2 separate regions of the Homo sapiens genome follow, and region 2 is linked to region 1. The links are contacts of gene promoters, found by promoter capture Hi-C in blood cells and fetal thymus (Javierre and others, 2016). All regions are on one chromosome and are shown on one strand. The core of a region is centred on a gene start or on the middle of the fragment in contact, and the rest is flanking DNA. Distances in the headings are between cores, read along the strand shown.

Evidence for each region. The method cuts DNA at HindIII sites, captures the fragments that hold promoters and counts their contacts. A CHiCAGO score of 5 or more calls a contact.
Region 2: a contact is called between the fragment with the promoter of OR1J1 here and the fragment with the promoter of NDUFA8 in region 1, in 4 of 17 cell types (M2 macrophages, M0 macrophages, M1 macrophages and 1 more). The highest score is 9.4, in M2 macrophages.

The regions. Positions count from the first base shown.
Region 1 is chr9:122,157,658-122,162,255 of GRCh38, forward strand. It overlaps NDUFA8 (NADH:ubiquinone oxidoreductase subunit A8), which reads right to left and starts at 2,122. Exons shown (of 4, transcript NM_014222.3): 1 at 1,970-2,122. The coding sequence starts at 2,020. MORN5 (MORN repeat containing 5) reads left to right here and starts at 2,251. Exons shown (of 5, transcript NM_198469.4): 1 at 2,251-2,362. The coding sequence starts at 2,316. RefSeq lists an enhancer at 2,033-2,327. The HindIII fragment of the contact is 8,418 bases long and covers 1-4,598 here.
Region 2 is chr9:122,475,365-122,479,962 of GRCh38, forward strand. It overlaps OR1J1 (olfactory receptor family 1 subfamily J member 1), which reads right to left and starts at 2,562. Exons shown (of 1, transcript NM_001004451.1): 1 at 1,594-2,562. The coding sequence starts at 2,562. The coding sequence ends at 1,594. It also overlaps a transcript of OR1J2 not described here. The HindIII fragment of the contact is 5,266 bases long and covers 91-4,598 here.

The sequences.
Region 1 (4,598 bases), core at 872-3,371:
ATGGGGTGGGGGCAGGGGGGTGGTTCGCCGGGGGGAACAAAAGAGTGGGGGCCACATGGCAGCTCCCCTCTGCCACCTCAGAGTAAATGTCACTTTAATATAATAAAGTCCCTGAACATAGCTAATAATTTCTTCCTCTGAGGAAAATAACAGTTGCCACTCTCACAGGCATCTAAGATTAAATGAAGCATTGCAGGTAGAAGACTTAACATACGGCCAGGCGCGGTGGCTCACGCCTGTAATCCCAGCACTTTGGGAGGCCGAGGCAGGCAGATTACGAGGTCAGGAGATCGAAACCATCCTGGCTAACACGGTGAAACCCCGTCTCTACTAAAAATACACAATATTAGCCGGGTGTGGTGATGAGCGCCTGTAGTCGCAGTTACTCGGGAGGCTGAGGCAGCAGAATCGCTTGAACCCGGGAGGCGGAGGTTGCAGTGGGCCAATATCGCGCCACTGCACTCCAGCCTGGGCAACAGAGCGAGACTCTCAAAAACAACAAAACAAACAAACAAAACACTTAACATAGTGCCGGGTATATCATTGCTGGTACATCATTTCTAGTCTTGGCCTTCCTCTCCTTTAATATAGCCTGTTCTACTATCCAGCCCTGCCATGACACTCCTCTGCCTTAAAACCTTCCACTCTTCCCACCACCTCCCTTACTGGATCAAGTCCAAACTGTTTGGTCTGGCCTTGTAGAAGCTGCTTCCAAGTCCTATCTCAGCCCAAGTTGCCTCTCCAGGCTCAGCACCTGCTGCTTCCCACCACCACCACTAGGGTCACATCAAACTGTACTTGGCTCCCTAAACACACAAGTTCTGCTAGGCCGTCTCATTCTTGTGAGTTTTCACCCATAATATAGTGGAAAAGCATTGGTTTTAAAATCAGACTTGGGTTCACTTCCAGCTCTATTACTTACGAGCTCCGTGACCTTGGGCAAATCATTTCTACTCTCGGGGACTAATTCCTTATTTATAACGCTACGACCAATTGTGTGTGTGTGTGTATATATATATATATGACCAATTGTGTGTGTGTATATATATATGGTATATACATATATATATATACACCAATTGTGTATATATATATATGGTATATATATATACACACCAATTGTGTGTGTGTATATATATGTGTATGTGTGTGTATATATATATATATCCTACCTTATAGTGTTGCTGGGAGGATTCAATGAATTAATGCATGGAAAGTAATTAGCATCCTGCCTGGTATCTAGAAAGGACTTGATCATGTTAGCTATAATTAGTAGGGTATGTTTCTACTTCACTCCTCACAGCACTAACTACATTGTACTGTGACTGCCTCTTTATGTGTCTGTCTCCCTACTGGATTGTAAAGTCCATGAAAGCACGAAGTATATCTCTTCCAGCGTTATGTGTACACGTTAATTACTGAAATGATATCTCTTGAATAAACGAATGCTTTAAATGGGTCCTGTTACCAAACACCTTCCCAAGGCTGTGAGTAGATGCACGCTCCAATATTGTCTCATTTTCCCGCGGCTTCGTCACCCCACTCTATGCACTCTGCACCGGTGATACCACTTTAAGGTAGATGACCGTCTCCCTCGACTGTGAGCCCCTAGGGTTGTATACTCACCTCGCATGCAAGTTTGAGGATTAAGCGACATAAGCTAAGTAAAATGACTGGTTGGTGCTTAATAAAATGTATCACTATTATTCACGGAAGGAGAAATAGGTCGCTGTGGAGGGCGAAAGGGGGAGGATTCTAGAGCCACTGCAAGATGCGACAGGGTGGGGTAGAGAGGGGAGGCGACTCCCAAAGCTGCGGAGGGGACCTCCGGGGGTCGACCTGTATATGCGTTGGAGGACTGGGGAGGGGGGCCCGGGTCCCAGGATCCGCGGAGCCCAAGGGGGGCTAGGCCCAGGCCCGAGAAGCCGCAGCCCCATGTCTCCCTTGCCTGTCCTCCGGATAGCCTCACCTCATCTACTTTCAGCTCCTCTAGAGTGGGCAGCTCCACTATCCCCGGCATGACGGCTGCAGCCCCGACCCCGACGAGAAGCCCTCAGCCGCGTCGCCCCCGTCTCCTTGAACTCCCCTTTCGACCGCCGAGTGCCACACGGCGCCTGCGCATGCGCATCCGGCAACACGCAGGCGTATTGCCCTGCCCAACCACGAGCGAGGGAGCGTGCGCAATACCAAGAACTTTTCAGCCTCCAGCGGGGTGGGGCTTCGATTCGGCTCCGCCCACCCCTCCAGGTTGTCATAGTGATGCCGTATCCACTGAGACTCCGGATCCTAACAGCTGGAAGCTAAAAACAGGCGCCATGGAGTACACAGGGAGCAAATATATCGGGGAATATGTAGATGGGAGGTAAGGGGCTCATTTGATTCACTTACTATACCTTGAATAGCTGTGACTGGAAAAAGACGGCTTTTTGCTTCTGCGAAACACCTTGTGCCAGGCACTTTCACAAACTTGCCCGAGTAATTTTTTCAAGGACCATATCTAATAAGCAGCAAAGCTAAGATGCATTCATTCCATATATACTTATATGTGTGTGTGCATTGACTGTGTGTGTGTGCTATCTGCCAGTTTTAAACATAGGAATAAGAATATTTAAAATGTCAAGATCCTTGCTCTTATGGAGTTTATAATCCAGTTGGAGATGTATTGCCAATAAACAAATAAGTGATAAAATAATTACAGATAATGGTAAATGCTATAAAAACAAACACGAAGATTAGGGAAGAGAGACTGGCTAATCTGAATCTACACGGTCGCTTCCTTCCAGGAGGAGTTCACGATCTAGGGATTATTATAGAGGATTATATACACAAATCACTGTAGTGGACTAGTAGTAAAAAACAATTCAACAGTTTTTTTTTCTTTTCTTTTCCTTCCTTCCTTCCTTCCTTTTTTCCTTCCTTCCTTCCTTCCTACCTTCCTCTCTTTCTTTCTTTCTCTCTCGTTTTTGTTTTATTTTCAGACAAGATCTCGCTCTGTTGCCCTGGCTGGAGTGCAGTGGCCTGTTCACTGCTTACTGCAGCCTCAACCCCCTAGGCTCAAACAATCTTCCCACCTCAGCCTCCCAAGTAGCTGAGACTACCGGTGTGCACCACTACCCCCAGCAAATTTTTCAACGCCTTTTGTAGAGACGGCATCTTGCTATGTTGTCCAAGCTGGTCTCATACTCCTGGGCTCAAGTGATCCTCTTGCATGAGCCACCGTGCCCAGCAATTCAACAATGTTGAGTGGCTACCGAGTACCAGGCCCTGTAATTGACTCTGGGCACAATCCCTGTCTTCAGAAAGTTCATTCAAACATGATGCGACAAGTAGACATAACAGATAACTGCGATTCAGTGTGGTAAGAGCTGTAGTAGAGAGAAGCAGAGGAAACACAGAGGTGGCCACTCTTTTTTGCCAACCACCCTGGATGAAGAAAGTGGAATCTCTGTTTTTATAGCTGAGGAAACCAAGGCTGGACGATATGAAGTGGTTTGCTGAACCAGTGCTAGTTGTCGGGACTGTGAAGCACTCCCACCTTGGGGCTCTGTATTCACAAGTTGGTGGAATTCCAGGGCATTCTGAGTTAATAGGAAAGAGGGATCTGTGGTCTGGACAGGGATAGGAGATAGATTCCTAGAGAGGGTGGTAGGAATGCTATGGGATGCTATCTCTCTAATCATTACATCAATTTTGCAAGGAAGATGTTATTATCTTTCCAGGTAAGAAAGGTGACCCTTACAGGGCTTGAGACACTTATCCTACTCAGCAGGTAAGTGGCAGAGGTGCTTGGTGTGTACTCCCTCTCACTACTCAGTGAGATAGTTCAGGCTGACCTTGCAAATAAAGGAACAGAAGTTAGGAGAAGCAAAATGACTGGCCCACCATTATGGATACACAGCTAGGAAGTAACAGAGTCAGGATTTGAACCCAATCCTCTGTCCAAACCACATTCTTACTTTTCACAAGGCTCTGCTACAGTGAAGGTGGTAGAATTTTGGCAGATAGAGATGGGGTATTGGGCATTTTAGGCACAAAAAGTTGAGAAACTACATTAATTTTCGATGGGCTGTATATGGGTGAGAGAGAAACACACAGACAAGGTAAAAGACGGAAGGCTTTCAACCATTTGCCTTTGGCCTTCTGTGTATTTTCATTGGGTTTGTGTGCTGAATCAGCCATTTCCATGCTTTGGCCCTAGGAATTTGGGCTTTGCTTGAGGTTGTCTGGTACCTCTGTAACCACGATAGGGATTCCCAGACCTGAACAGGGCTTCCCAATTTCCCATAACTAGCAAGAAGTCAGCAGTTTTTCACTTGTTATACTTCTTTTCATAAGTTGGACATGTGTTGTTCTGTACTGATTTTGTATTTTTAACAACAGTTAACTAGAATTCTATTTGGGGCATCTCAAATTTCAGCATGTAATGAGAGGATGAGACAGGTCTGGGCTCAAGTCTGCCATTTGCTTGTTGTACACTTAATTAACCATCCATACCTCAGTTTCCTCATCTGTAAAATGGGAAAGCAATGCACATTCAGCAGCAGTGTTCCAAGGAATATGTAATGATCATATATGGATGTTATTTACAAATGGTAGAT
Region 2 (4,598 bases), core at 1,312-3,811, 320 kb after region 1:
CATTTCTTCTTTTCTATTGCTCTTTCTCTCACAAAAGCAGGGGATATATATGAAACTTGCTAAGTGGTTCTATTGAAGCTTCTTCCATTAAGCTTGAGATAAGGAGAAAAACAACCCTCTCCCTGTTAGGAGGATTTGGGGTTCACTATGCAGCTTTCTCTGAAAGAAAACTTTACAAGACACTCTCTTACCTCCAGCTCTCAGCTCTTTTTAGATCCACATTAGATTGAGAGGCTCAAGTGTTACGATATTGATTATTATTATTATTTCCTATCAATATCTTCATTTTGTGTGTCACAATTCACTTTAATATCTGTTGTCTCCCAGGTCTTGGTGCCTCAGTTGAAACTTCCAATTTAACATCCTGACACACACTACTCCCTCTTCCTGTGATCATCAGAACAAGATAAAACCTTGTGTGTCTGGATAGTTCTCATCTGTTAAGATTCAGGTAAAGAAACGCCTTCTTTGGGAAGTTGTTTATATCCTCTTCCATCAGACTGAGCTAATTATTCCTCTTCAAACCCACACAGTGTTCCATGTAAACTATTATAGTCTTTGCTACACTGAGTCACTCTGGAATCAGATGCCAAGATTCAAGTCTTCCTTTCACGAACTATATGATCTTGGGGTATTCTTCCCCTTTTAGAGCCTGAGTTTTTTAAACTTACCTTTTGGAGTTTTTGTCAGAATTAAGTTAGATGATTTTAAGGTATATTAAGTTCTTAGATCAGTCCCTGAGAGAACTGAGGTGACATTTATTTTGTCACTGAACATCTGTATGTGTTTGGGGAGAAAGGAAGTGTGGGCTATATTCTGGAAGGACAAGACAGCAGTGTGTTAATTATTATGTAAGGAGTGAGAAATGTCATATGTTTTTCTTAAAATTTCTGAAAGGGCTTCAGCTTCCTGGATATCTGGTGCCTGGGCGAAAGAGGAGCCATATCTTCACAAAAGTGGAAAATTCCTAAGAAATAGAGGTGTGAAGGGCCAGACACATTTTATAACAAATTTAAAATCTGGGAAAGGTCAGCCCTGATGGCTTCCTTTTCATACCAGCCAAAGTGACATAACATGCTCAGAATATTTTCCAATTCCATTACCCAAGAAAAGAGCAAACAAAGTCCTATACAACATATCCTATTTTACTATTCCCTCAAACAGATGCAATAATAATATCAGGAAAGCATTTCAGAGTGACAGCTGTGGAAGAAAGACAAGTGAGCTATATTTTCAATAATTTGTATTTCTGTATTATTGAGGAAAAATATTACATGGGATGTTTTAAAAGAAAGGTAAATATCAGTTAGAATAATGGTTTTTTTTTACTCAATAATTTTTTTTTCTTTTTTCTTTTTTTTGACAGAGTCTTGCTCTGTCACCCAGGCTGGAGTGCAGTGGCACGATCTTGGCTCACTGCAACCTCCGCCTCCTGGGTTCAAGTGATTCTTCTGCCTCAGTCTCCCGAGTAGCTGGGACTATAGGCATGCACCACCATGCCCGGCTAATTTTTTTGTATTTTTAGTAGAGACTGGGTTTCGCCATGTTGGCCAGGCTGGTCTCGAACTCCTGATCTCAGGTGATCCGTCTGCCTCAGCCTCCCAAAGTGTTGAGATTACAGGCATGAGCCACTGCGCCTGACCTACTCAAGAGTTTTCTTAGGGCTCCCTTAATGTCTTTATTTCTCAGACTGTAAATGAATGGGTTCAACATGGGAGTGACTGCTGTGTATATCACTGAAGCAATTATGTTCTTGTCATTGGTGTTGCTGGATGGGGGAAGAAAATAGAGACCAATAATTGTCCGATAATAGATAGTCACCACTGAGAGGTGGGATCCACAAGTGGACAAGGCTTTGCATATGCCCTTGGTAGAGGGAATCTGGAGGATGGTGACCCCAATGTGACCATAAGAAACCAGGATGCACAGGAATGGAAGCATAATGGCTGTCAATGCTGCTGTAAAGATTGCTAACTGATTGAGGGAGGTGTCTGAGCAGGACAACTTGAGCAGGGCACCAAGGTCACAGAAGTAGTGAGGGATGATGTGGTCAGCACAGAAGGAAAGCTGGGCCAGGAGGAGGGTATGCAAAAGAGCACACGCACAAGCGATGACCCAGGACCCAGCCACCAGCATGACACACTGGCTCTGAGTCATGATGGTGGCATAATGTAGAGGATGACAGATGGCCACATACCTGTCATATGCCATTGAAGTGATAAGGAAACTGTCTAAGTCAGCAAAAAATATGAAAAAATATGTCTGTGAAATGCATCCCTTGTAAAAGACGGCTAGGTGCTGAGTCTGCATGTTCATCAGCATCTTAGGGACAGTGACAGATGAAAAGGAGATGTCAGTGAGGGCCAAGTGGCTAAGGAAGAAGTACATGGGGGTGTGAAGGTGAGAGTCTAGCTGGATGAGCAGCATGATGAGCAGGTTCCCCAGCACCGTGGTCAGGTACATGCCCAGGAACAGGGCGAAGAACACGGCCTGCTGCTCTGGCCGGATGGGGAGGCCCAGGAGGAGGAACTCGGACACGCTGCTCTGGTTCTCAGGGCTCATGTTTATATCAGCTGGAGGGCACTAGGGAAATTTGAAGGAAAAAAATGGTATGTCTTGGAATAAGAAATGATAACTGTGGCATAGTATAATAGAGATGTTCTTTTGACTTAGAGAATGTCTTCATATTTTCTTACATTTGCCACATATTTTGCTGCAAATGTGCTGAAAAAGAAATGAAGGTTTAGTCGATATAGCTACTTTCTTTCTGAATCTGGTCTCTGTAAATGATAGTACTAAAAGTTGTTTGCTAAATGTTTTTTAATACACTGTTCCAATAGCTGATGTATTGTAAGTGATTCAATAGCCTTCAATATATGAGCTGGGTGGTACTGTTATTATTTCTACTCTTTAGATGTGAAAGCTAAGGCAGACAGTCTTATAGTCACAGCAATAGGAAGAGGAGAAGCTGGGATTTGGACCGAAGTATCTTGACTCCATAGTTTCTTCTGTGGAAACAAAGCAATTATTTGACATTGGAAATCTCATTGCCTTATTTTGTGTGCAATGACCTATTTAATTCTGTATACCCTGCTTGTCTACACAGTGCATGATTATTTCTAATTTATTCATTGTTTATAGACCCCTAATCTTTTTTTAAGACATAACACTTTATTTATTAAAAAACTCTTCCATGTAAACAATTACTCCAAAAGACAACAAAACAAGTTATTTTGAGTGATTTTTCAAAGGACATACCCACATATTTTATCATGATATATATGTACTATTCTAGAAGGTGGGGAGGGTGGTACTGTTGAAAGTCCAGGTAAATAAATCATAATACGAAGTAAGCAACAAGATAGAAAATCTTTCTTATGGTTTCAGATCCATACATAATTGCTCTGATCTTTTTTTGTTTGTTTGTTTGTTTGAGACAGAGTCTCGCTCTGTTGCCAAGGCTGGAGTGCAGTGGTGAGATCTCGGCACACTGTAACCTCCGCCTCCTGGGTTCAAGCGATTCTTCCAGCTAATTTTTTATTTTTAGTAGAGACGGAGTTTCACCATGTTGGTCAGGCTGGTCTCGAACTCCTGACCTCATGATCCACCCGCCTCAGCCTCCCAGAGTGCTGGGGTTACAGGTGTGAGCCACTGCACCCAGCCTAATTGCTCTGATCTTTTTAAAGTTTAAGATAAGTGTAAGATATTTAATTCTATGTTTGAATATCAATGTGTAGCGCGAAAACATATATATATTCCTCCAGGCTCAACCACACATGTGACAATGTCTCTTGGGGACGCAGCGGTGAATTCCTCTCACAGTATGTCTAAGGAGCATTGGCTCAGTGAGATTTCACATTCAGTGGATTTCAGCCATCTCATCAATTTCTCCATGCTACTGAAATCTCATTGTTCCACTCAGAATTTGTCTTTTCCCCAGGATGGCTTTCAAAGCATTTTACTGACTGTGTCAAGCCAGAGTAAGTAAAATGCTGATGAGTTTGGATTTCCTCCTCCAGTCTCTCGGCCTTTGTGTTTTATTGTTTTGTATCTCATTTCTATATGACATCAGATGCTGTATTAGAAATTCCTGCTTGATCTTGAAATATATCAAAGGTACTGACTGATGAGGCATTAAACACAACTTAAATTCAGTCTTTAATCACTACCACTTTTAAAACATTTAATAGTGTAATTACGAAAAATTCATAAAGACTTGGAAACTTCACATCATAATAAATTCAGATATTAGCGAGGCTGTCAGATGCTGTTACTCTATTCTAAATACCAGTACCAGAAGGACGAGACAATTTCTCAACATATTTGGAAATAATACTTCAGGTTAAGATATGAGCTGGATGTCTTATTTTGGTCTATTCTTTTTCATGTTTCCATGTTCCTTTCTCTTTTTCTTGAAAGATTAGACCTAGAATCTATCATAACCAACTAATGCATACTCTATATAAATTTGTTGATCAAATAAAATGTTAGAGCTATTTAAATTTATCATAACAGCTTTATTAAAAAACTTTTACTGGGCTTAGTTCAAGAACCAGCTTTGCTCTAACAATCCTGGGGCCCCATGTTATTTAGTTGCC